2 separate regions of the Homo sapiens genome follow, and region 1 is linked to region 2. The links are contacts of gene promoters, found by promoter capture Hi-C in blood cells and fetal thymus (Javierre and others, 2016). All regions are on one chromosome and are shown on one strand. Each heading gives the region's core, a stretch centred on a gene start or on the middle of the fragment in contact. The rest is flanking DNA. Distances are from core to core; before and after follow the strand shown. Region 1 overlaps DCAF10 (DDB1 and CUL4 associated factor 10). Region 2 holds the start of SHB (SH2 domain containing adaptor protein B).

The links. The method cuts DNA at HindIII sites, captures the fragments that hold promoters and counts their contacts. A CHiCAGO score of 5 or more calls a contact.
Region 1: a contact is called between a fragment that was not itself captured here and the fragment with the promoter of SHB in region 2, in 2 of 17 cell types (monocytes and neutrophils). The highest score is 6.7, in monocytes.

What each region holds. Positions count from the first base shown.
Region 1 is chr9:37,810,930-37,815,548 of GRCh38, forward strand. The region is part of intron 1 of DCAF10 (DDB1 and CUL4 associated factor 10); the gene reads left to right. Among named protein-coding and RNA genes, the nearest start is that of DCAF10, 12 kb to the left of the region's middle. The HindIII fragment of the contact is 4,860 bases long and covers 1-4,208 here.
Region 2 is chr9:38,067,328-38,071,735 of GRCh38, forward strand. It overlaps SHB (SH2 domain containing adaptor protein B), which reads right to left and starts at 1,900. Exons shown (of 6, transcript NM_003028.3): 1 at 602-1,900. The coding sequence starts at 1,318. LOC105376039 (a long non-coding RNA gene) reads right to left here. Exons shown (of 4, transcript XR_007061483.1): 4 at 4,100-4,224. RefSeq lists an enhancer at 337-1,140 and silencers at 1,031-1,080, 1,501-2,310. The HindIII fragment of the contact is 5,108 bases long and covers 1-4,376 here.

The DNA of each region.
Region 1 (4,619 bases), core at 529-3,028, 260 kb before region 2:
CAGCTTCAAATAATCTCATTCCCTACGTAGATTAAGAAGACCTCAGATTGCCGGCACCTCTACTCTAGCTTACTTGCCATAATTAAAGATGAATCTTCTATGGAAGAAGAAAATATGCAGCTGAGTGCCGTGGCTTACACCTTTAATCCAAGTTCTTTGGGAGGCTGAGGAGGGAAGATTAATTGAGGCCAGGAGTTGGAGACCAGTCTGAGCAACATAGTGAGAGATCCCATATCTGCAAAAAATCTAAAAATTAGCTGGGCAAGGTGGTGTGCGCCTGCCATACTAGCTACTCTGGAGGCTGAGGTGGGAGGATTGTTTAAGCCCAGGCGTTTGAGGTTACAGTGAGCTATAATCACATCACTACACTTCAGCCTGGGTGACCAAGCAAGACCCTGTCTCTAAAGAAATTTTTTTAAAAATATAATATATCATCCAGTGCTTTAAATTATCCCTATAATTTTTGTATACAGTGACGAGCACTAGTACAAAGAGATTCGTTGTCTGAAAAACCAAGAAAATCAGCAAACAATAGAAATAGACCCACAGGAGATCTGACATTAAAACTATTTAATATGTTCAAGGAATTATAAGATGGAGAAATTTAGCAGAGAACTAGAAGCTAAAAAAAGAAAACCCTAGAACTAAAAAGTACAGTAACTGATAAAAACTCACTGGATGATTTAACAGCAAACTGGACACAGCTGAAGGATTTGTGAGCTTGAGAATAGATGAGAAAAAAATATACAGAATAAAGTTCAGATTTACCAAAATGGGACATAGAGATTAAGATATGTCATAAGATACAGGGAAAAGATCTTATAAATATAAATGGAGTTTCAGAAAGATATTAAAGAGAATGAAGATAAATCAATATTTGAACAGATAATGGATGACAATTTTAAAAATTAACAAAAGACATTGTAGATTCAAGAAAGGCTATACATCTCAAGCAAGAGAAAGACAAAAAAAGCAGGCCAGGCATGGTGGCGCACCCCTGTAATCCCAGCACTTATGGAGGCTGAGGTAGTTGGATCTCTTGAGCTCAGGAGTTTGAGACCAGCCCGGCCAACATGGCAAAACCCTGACTCTACAAAAAAATTAGCCGGGTGTGGTGGCATGCGCCTGTGGTCCCAGCTACTCAGGAGGCTGAAGAAGGAGGATCACTTGAATCTGGGAGGTCAAGGCTGCAGTGAGCTGAGATTGCGCCACTGCATTCCAGCGCCACCACACTCCAAACCTTCTGAAACAAAACTGCTTCAAAAACAAAAAAAAAACCTTCCAACTGCTTTAAAAACAAAAACAAAAATCCCTACCAACTTCTTCAAAAACAAACAACAAAAAAAAGAAGAAAAAAAGACAGAAATATAAAGCCACACTTAGCTACAAGAGTAAAGCTGCTAAAACTAAAATAAAACATACATGCACAAAGACAAAGAAAATCTTAAAAGCAGCTAGAGGAAAGAGATAGATTACTTTCAAAGGAGGCTCAAAAAGAGAGCTAAGTTCACTGCAGAAACAATGGAAGTCAAGAGACAAAGATATTTCCAGACAAATATTGAGAGAATTTGCCACTATCAGATCTACACAGAAACAGGTAACAAAATTATTCTTTAGGAGGAAGGAAAAAGGTGGAAGATCAGAGGTACAGGAAAGAATGAAAAGAACAAAAATAAATATGCGTGTAAATCAAAATGAATGTGAACTTTTTTTTCATTTTTTTAGACAGAGTCTCTCTCTGTCATCCAAGCTGGAGTGCAGTGGCATGAACACTGCTCACTGCAGCCTTGACTTCCTGGGCTCAAGTAATCCTCTTGCCTCTGCCTTTTGTGTAGCTGGGACCACAGGCACACGCCAGCATGGCTGGCTAATTTTTTTATTTTTTGTAGAGACAAGGGTCTCAGTTTGTTGTCCAGGCTGGGAATGGTATAAAACATGAAAAATTTTAGTAGAGCATTAAATTTATATATAATTATATCTAAAAAATTAAATATTAGGATGGGATAAAGGAAGTTGAAGTGAGCTAAGGTTCTTGCATCATCCAGGAAGTAATAATTACGTACTTCACTTTAAAAAGTTGATGCATGATGTTAGCTCTTTAGGTATTCGCTAAAAGAAGAGTAAAAATATATTTAACATACTAAATAGCATATGGGGAGATATCAATAGCAAATGTATATATATTCTTAGAGATGGGATCTTGCACTGTTGCCCAGGCTGGAGTTCATTGGTGCTGTCACAGCTCACGGCAACCTCCAACTCCTGGGCTCAAGCAATCCTCCCGCCTGTCTCCTGGGCAGCTAGGACTGCAGCCATAAGCCACTATGCCTGGCCATTTTATTTTTTTATAGAGATAGGGTCTCCACATGTTGTCCAGGCTGATCTCCAACTCCTGGCCACAAGCTATCCTCCTGCCTTGGACTCCTAAAACACTAGGATTACAGGCATGGGCCAATGTGCCTGGCCAAAAAAATGTTTAAAGCAACTGAAAAGGGACATAGAACAGACAGGACAAATGGAAAGTAAATTCTCTGGTGACAGATTTCAACTCAAAGATTGCTAGTAGTTACATTAAATGTAATTTGACTGAGACAATGATTGTCAGATCAGATTTTTAAAAACTGCTTACAGAAGACATACCTGAAATGTAAGGATACACAAAGTTTTAAAGTAAAAGGATGTCAAGGCATACCACTGCTAGCATTAGCTAAATGAAAGTTGGTGTGTTATGTTAATATCAGACAACACAAAAAACAAATTCATACAATTTCCAAGCATTGAGATTAAGCAGTTTGTTTTTCAATGAAAGTTCAGGAAATAAATAACTAGAAAATCTCTTTATTTTTGGAAATGCTCTTTTAAATAACTTGTGAGTCAAAGAAGAAATCACAGTATAAATTATAAAATATTTGAAACTGAATGATGAAAACACTATCAAAATTTGTGCAATTGCAGCTGAAGCCATGTATAGAGGAAAATCTTAGATCCTTAAATGCAGATATTAGAAAAGAAGAAAGGCTGAATTGTCAATAAGCTAAGTAAGCATCCATCTCAAGAACTTTGAAACAGAACAACAAATTATACCCAAAGAAGGTAAAAAGAAGGAATAGAGATCAGAGTGCAATTGAACCACTTTGAAACTATTTGTCACTATATATATATATATATATATATATATATATATATATATATATATATTTGTTGTTGTTGTTGTTGTTGTTGTTGTTGAGATGGAGTCTCATTCTGTCACCCAGGCTGGAGTGCAATGGCACGATCTCAGGTTACTGCAACCTCTGCCTCCCGGGTTCAAGCGATTCTCCTGCCTCAGCCTCCCAAGTAGCTGGAATTACAGGCATGTGCCACCACGCCGGCTTTTTTTTTTTTTTTTTTTTTGTATTTTTAGTAGAGATGGGTTTCACCATGTTGGCCAGCCTGGTCTCAAACTCCTGACCTTGTGATCCGCCCGCCTCGGCCTCCTAAAGTGCTGGGGTTACAGGCGTGAGCCACCACGCCTGGCCTTCAATTTTTTTTTTAAGAGGCAGGGTCTTGCTGTGTTGCCAGGCTGATCTCAAATTCCTGGGCTCAAGTGATCCTCCTGCCTCAGCCACCCAAAGTGCTGGAATTATAGGTGAGAGCCACTGTGTCTGGCCTTTAAAGTTTAAAAATAGAAACAGAGGATATTGTGAACAACTTCATGCCAATAAAATTCTAAAGTTCAATGAAATAGGCTAATTCCTAGAAAAGTAGAAATTACCAAAACTGACATTAGTAAAAGATTAGAAAGTAGTATCATAACCAATAATACTGCATCAGTAGTTAGGTCTAGATGGTTTTATAGACTAGCACTACCAAATTTACAAGAAATAAATAATCCCAATTTATATAAACTATTCCAGTGTATAAAATAACAAGAGCCAGTCTTAATTCATTCCATGATGTTAGCATACACTTTATACCAAAATCTGACATGAATAGCACAAGAAAGCAAAATTACCATGCAATTTCGCTGAAGAATAAAGATAGAAAAATCATAAACAAAATATTAGCCAACTGAATCTAGCAATGAGGTAAAAATAAAAGACTGATTTGAAATTAGAAAGTAAATTAATGTAAATAACTACATTAATATATTAAAGGAAAAATATAGGAATATCTCAATAAATGCTGAAAAATCTCTTACACAGTTTGACATATATTCATGAAAAGAAAGCTTAGCAAAATTGAAACAGAACTTTCCTTAATCTAATAGTAGGAATCTGCCCAAAAAACCTACACCAAACATTGTACTTAATGATGAAATGTTGAATATATTCTTGAAGATCAGGAACAAGATGAGTGCCTGCTATTAACACTTCTATTCAACATTGTTCTGAAAGTCCTAGTCAGTATAACAACCAAAAAGAGAAGGAAACAGGTTTTTAAAAAGAAGAACAGTCTGGGCATGGTGGCTCACGCCTGTAATCCCAGCACTTTGGGAGGCCGAGGCAGGTGGATCACCTGAGGTCAGCAGTTCGAGACTAGCCTGGCCAACATGGTGAAACCCTGTCTCTACTAATAATACAAAAATTAGCTGGGCATCATGGCACACGCCTGCAGTCCCAGCTACCCAGGAGGCTGCG
Region 2 (4,408 bases), core at 650-3,149:
GGAAAAGCACGCGTGGAGGTTCCCGGAGCAGCTCCGGTACCAGGCAGCCCGGATTTGGAAACCTAGAGCTGGGGGTGGGGCAGGGCAGGGCCGGGCAGGGCAGCCGCGAGAGATTTACATATACACGCTGGAGACAGCCGGTCCGGATCTGCCACCAAGAAAGCTGTGTAATATTGGGCGAGTCCCTTCCTTGCTCTGGACCTCAGTTTCCCACCTACAGCGTGAGCGGAGGGTGGAGGCTGGGATAAGGGGTGTCAGGAGTCAAAGCTCTTCGAAGTCCTAGACAGCTCTGACTCTGACTTTACTCCTTGGCAGCCAGAAGGACTGACTGGGTCCGTCTTCCTGGGGCAAGGCTGGGCCGGGCGCTCTCGCTCAGAGGGGACGTTCTGGAAGCAGCGGCGAAAGAGGTGGGGTCAGGAGGCCGCCGGTCCCAGGAAAAGGGCGCGGGAGGAGGCAGAAGCGGGAAGCAGCACGCCAGCCCCGACCCAGGGTCCTAGGCCGAAGCTGAAGTAGAGACTCAACACCAGAGCGGCGGGTGCCTCGGTTTCCCCGTGCGCACCGTGGCTCTGGAACCTCGGGAAGAGGCCAAGGGGCACCTTACCTTGTCCTTCTTGCCGGCCCCGCTCTCCTCCGCGGCTGAGGCGGCGCACTTGTTGAGCAGTTTCTTGCCTCCGCAGGCCGTCGGGCTCCAGGTGCGGCCGCCCGCGCAGGCGCCCCCCAGGGGGTCCCCGGCCCCACCGCCCGCGGCGCTCTCCACTTTGATGAGGCGGTGCTTGGGGGAGATGTAGCGCACCTCGGCCGGCGTGGCGGGCCGCCGCTCGCTGCTGCTGCGGTAGAGATGCGGAGAGCCGGAGGACGAGGACGAGGACGCGGCGGCCCCCGCGCCCGAGGAGGCGCAGCAACAGCCCGCGGCGCCCGACGCGGACGAGGCCGAGAAGGCGCGCTGGACCCCGCCTGGCTCCCCGCTGCCGCCGCAGTAGTCCAGGCGGCACATGGCGCGCAGTTTGCGCAGCGACGAGCCAGGCCCGTTGTAGGGGTCCTCGAAGTCTCGCTCCTTCTGCGCGCGGTAGGCGCGGATGAGGTCGCTGGTGCTGCCGCTGTCGTCGGGCAGCGAGCCCGAAGAGGCTGAGAAGCAGGAGGCGGTGGCCGGACCGCAGGACGCCGAGGCGGCGGAGGAGGCCTGCGGCACGGCCTGGGGGGGCTGCGAAGGCCGCTCGCCTCGGCGCCGCTGCTCGCGGTAGTCTGGCCGCGGCGGCTGCGGGGGGCTCTTGGTCTTGCTGTTGCCCAAGCTGAAGTACTTGTTTAGCCACTTGGCCATGGCGAGAGGCCGCCTAGGGCCGCGGCGCGGGAGCCCGGTCCGCCGCCGCGGCCATTCGGGGGGCAGCGCTGCGGCGCAGGTCCCTCGGCGCCCCGGCCCCGGCGGGGGGCGTCCGGGGCGCCCGCTCCCGACGCCAAGTTCAAGTTCTTGCCGCCGCCGCCTCCTGCCGGCAGCTCTCTGGCTCCGGCGGCTGCAACACCTCCCTCCGCCTAGCGCCGCCCAAGCTAGGAATCTCGCGCCCCTCGTGGGCGCGTCTCATGGGGTCCCGGCCCACGCCCGGGGGAGAGCGGAAGGTCCGAGCGCTCCACGCCGCGGACCCTTTGGCCGTACGCCCCTCGCCGTGGATCGCGCTCCTGCCCCGTCGGAGCCGCAGCCTCCGCCTTGGCCGGGATCCGCGGCTGCCGCGGGAACTTCTCGGCGTCCTCGGCTCCCTTCTTCCTTCCTGCGAGCGCTGGGGAGAGCTCGGCCCCGCAGCGGAGGAGAATGCGGCCGGGAGAGACAGCGAGCGACGGAGGAAGGCAGCCGGCGCCCGCCGGAGCCCGCGCGCCCGTGCCCGTCCCGGCGGCGCCTGTCGCTGCCACTGCCGCCGCCTCCCGAGCCGCCGCGTGTGTGACACTCAGGCCGCCAGAGCCCGCCCCGCGCCGCCGCCCCGCCCCCCCGGAGCCCGCTCGCGCGCCCCGCCCCCCGCCCGCTCCCGCAGACCCAGCACCGCCCATCCCCGCGAGCCTGGCCCCGGGCCGCGGCCCAAGCCCCGCCCCCCTCGCGCCCGGGGCCGGGGTGGGCGCACCTCTCCGCTCCTGCACACGCCACCTCCCGCGGCTGCCCTGGCGCCAGCACCAGGGTCTTGCCCCAGGGCGCTGGGGTCCCGCCGCGCAGCCGGCTCCACCTAGCTTGCAGCTCGCCGCCGCCTCGGGCGAGAGGTTGCCTGGCGGAGCCTGCTACGCGCAGAGGCCAAACCTTTCCGCAGTCCCCCGGGACCCCGCGCGTTGTTCACTCCAGGGATCCCCCTGTCGGGGTTGAGGAGGGAGAGTGGATTAACACGGAACCTGTCTAGTTTACAGCGTGGCCCGTGTGGAGGAAATGCAGTGCCTAGTGCCCTTAGGGACAGAGTGGCTGTCCCTCTTCCTTAAAGGGACAGACTCCGGTTCAGCCCCGTGCGCCAGGTCTTCGGAGGAATCTTTATGCTAATGAGTGTATTAGCAGTCCAGATGACGGATGTGGTCGGGATAGGCGGTGGGAGCCGGGCCCAGCACCAATCCGAGAGCAAGGCTAGGGGAGGTCGGAATGTTTGCTTACCTTTTCACCTCTGAGGAAGTCGAGGCTTTAGCCCTGTTCGCTGCCAGCCGGCGGGGAGCAAGTTGTGGGAACATTTAATGCCTTATGTTGTAGGAGCTGGCAAGGATCCATTTAATACAGGACCTCGGCCGGGTGCGGTGTCTCACGCCTGTAATCCCAGCACTTTGGGAGGCCGAGGCGGGTGGATCACGAGGTCAGGAGTTTAATACCAGCCTGGCCAAGATGGTGAAACCCCGTCTCTACTAAAAATACAAAAATTAGCCGGGTGTGGTGGCGGGTACCTGTAATCCCAGCAGCTACTCGGAAGGCTGAGGCAGAGAATTGCTTGAACCTGGGAGGCAGAGGTTGCAGTGAGCCGAGATCACACCACTTCACTCCAGCCTGGGCGACAGAGGGAGATTCCGTCTCAAAAAATAAATACAGGACCTCATTTTACAGATGGAGAAACTGAGGCCCAGAGGAAAGTCACACAGGTGGACTTGGATGCCAGTTCCTAAGTCGGGTGGCACCATAATTATGTCTTTTCCAAGAGTCTCTTCTTTGCGATTTCAGATCATCCTTTGATTATTAACCAAAATTGAGGAAACAGTCCCAGGGAGTGGCCTGATTTGGTCAGTGTAACTTTTCCTGGGATCTGCACCCAGGGGAGGTGGCATGCTCCCTGTTGAGAGGGAAATGCTGCCTAAAGATGAAGTAGCTGCCACTAGGGCCTGGTGCTGCTTTGAATTTGCCTGGGCAACCCTCAAAATGTGACTTAACTCTAAGATGTGGGCACCTGAGAGCTGAGAAATTCTCTAAGAATGTTGATTTACTAAAACAATAGCCCAAATCAATAATCTGCATTTGCTGTCTGTCTGTTATAGATGTGCTTTGGGGGAGTCTGTTTTTCCCATATCCTGTAGTAACAGTGGGAACTGTGAGGGCAGACAGCAAGGCCAGGGGCTCTTTTGATCACATCATAGTTCTGGCCACGCTGGAAGTAGAGGTCAAACTCAGATTTCAATCTGAGACATTTGGACAGGGAAGGCCTGAGAGCTGTTACTGCTTCCTCTCTGTAACCCACCCAGACTCATGCCTGAGGCCACAGCACAGAAGTGATAGAAGCAGGACTTGAACTCGGTCTTATCCTGAAGCTGACCTCTGTCTGCTCAGCCATACACAGTGGTAAAGTGAAATTGACTTCAAATTTGTTATTCCAGAATCAAGCTATTTGCCCTTTCCCTCCTTGGTCAGACAAAACTGTCATCCTCTGTGGCCAGTTGAATTTTCCAAACCCACTATGTGACGTCTCACAGTCGCAGATACTATCACCAGCTACAGAGCATCTTCATTGCCTGAGATCTATTTACTTAGCATTTCACAGGAAATAATCTAAGGGATGTGTGTGTGTGTGTGTGTGTGTGTGTGTGTGAGAGAGAGAGAGAGAGAGAGAGAGAGAGAGAGAGAGATGTGATGTGTCTGGGGCATGCAGAGAGGACCCAGAAGTTGACCTGGCTAGGATGTTTATTTTGAATATACCTAGACTTAAGTATCTCCGTTACCCTTTAAATTGTTCCTCTGTCGCATTGGCACTTAATTATCTTGCACGTAAGGAGGCCCCAGTAGAAAACCTGAAAGGCAAGGACATCCTTGTTTTAAGCCCCACCTTTCATCCAACCACAAATCCTCCCCAGCTCCCTTCCTTCCCATTTCTACTTCTGGGCTCAGATCCTGGCAATAGGCCAGGCCACCTGAGACAAGAAAGTCCTCACCAGAATCTGGAAGCTTGCTCCCTGCATGTGTCTTGCACATGGA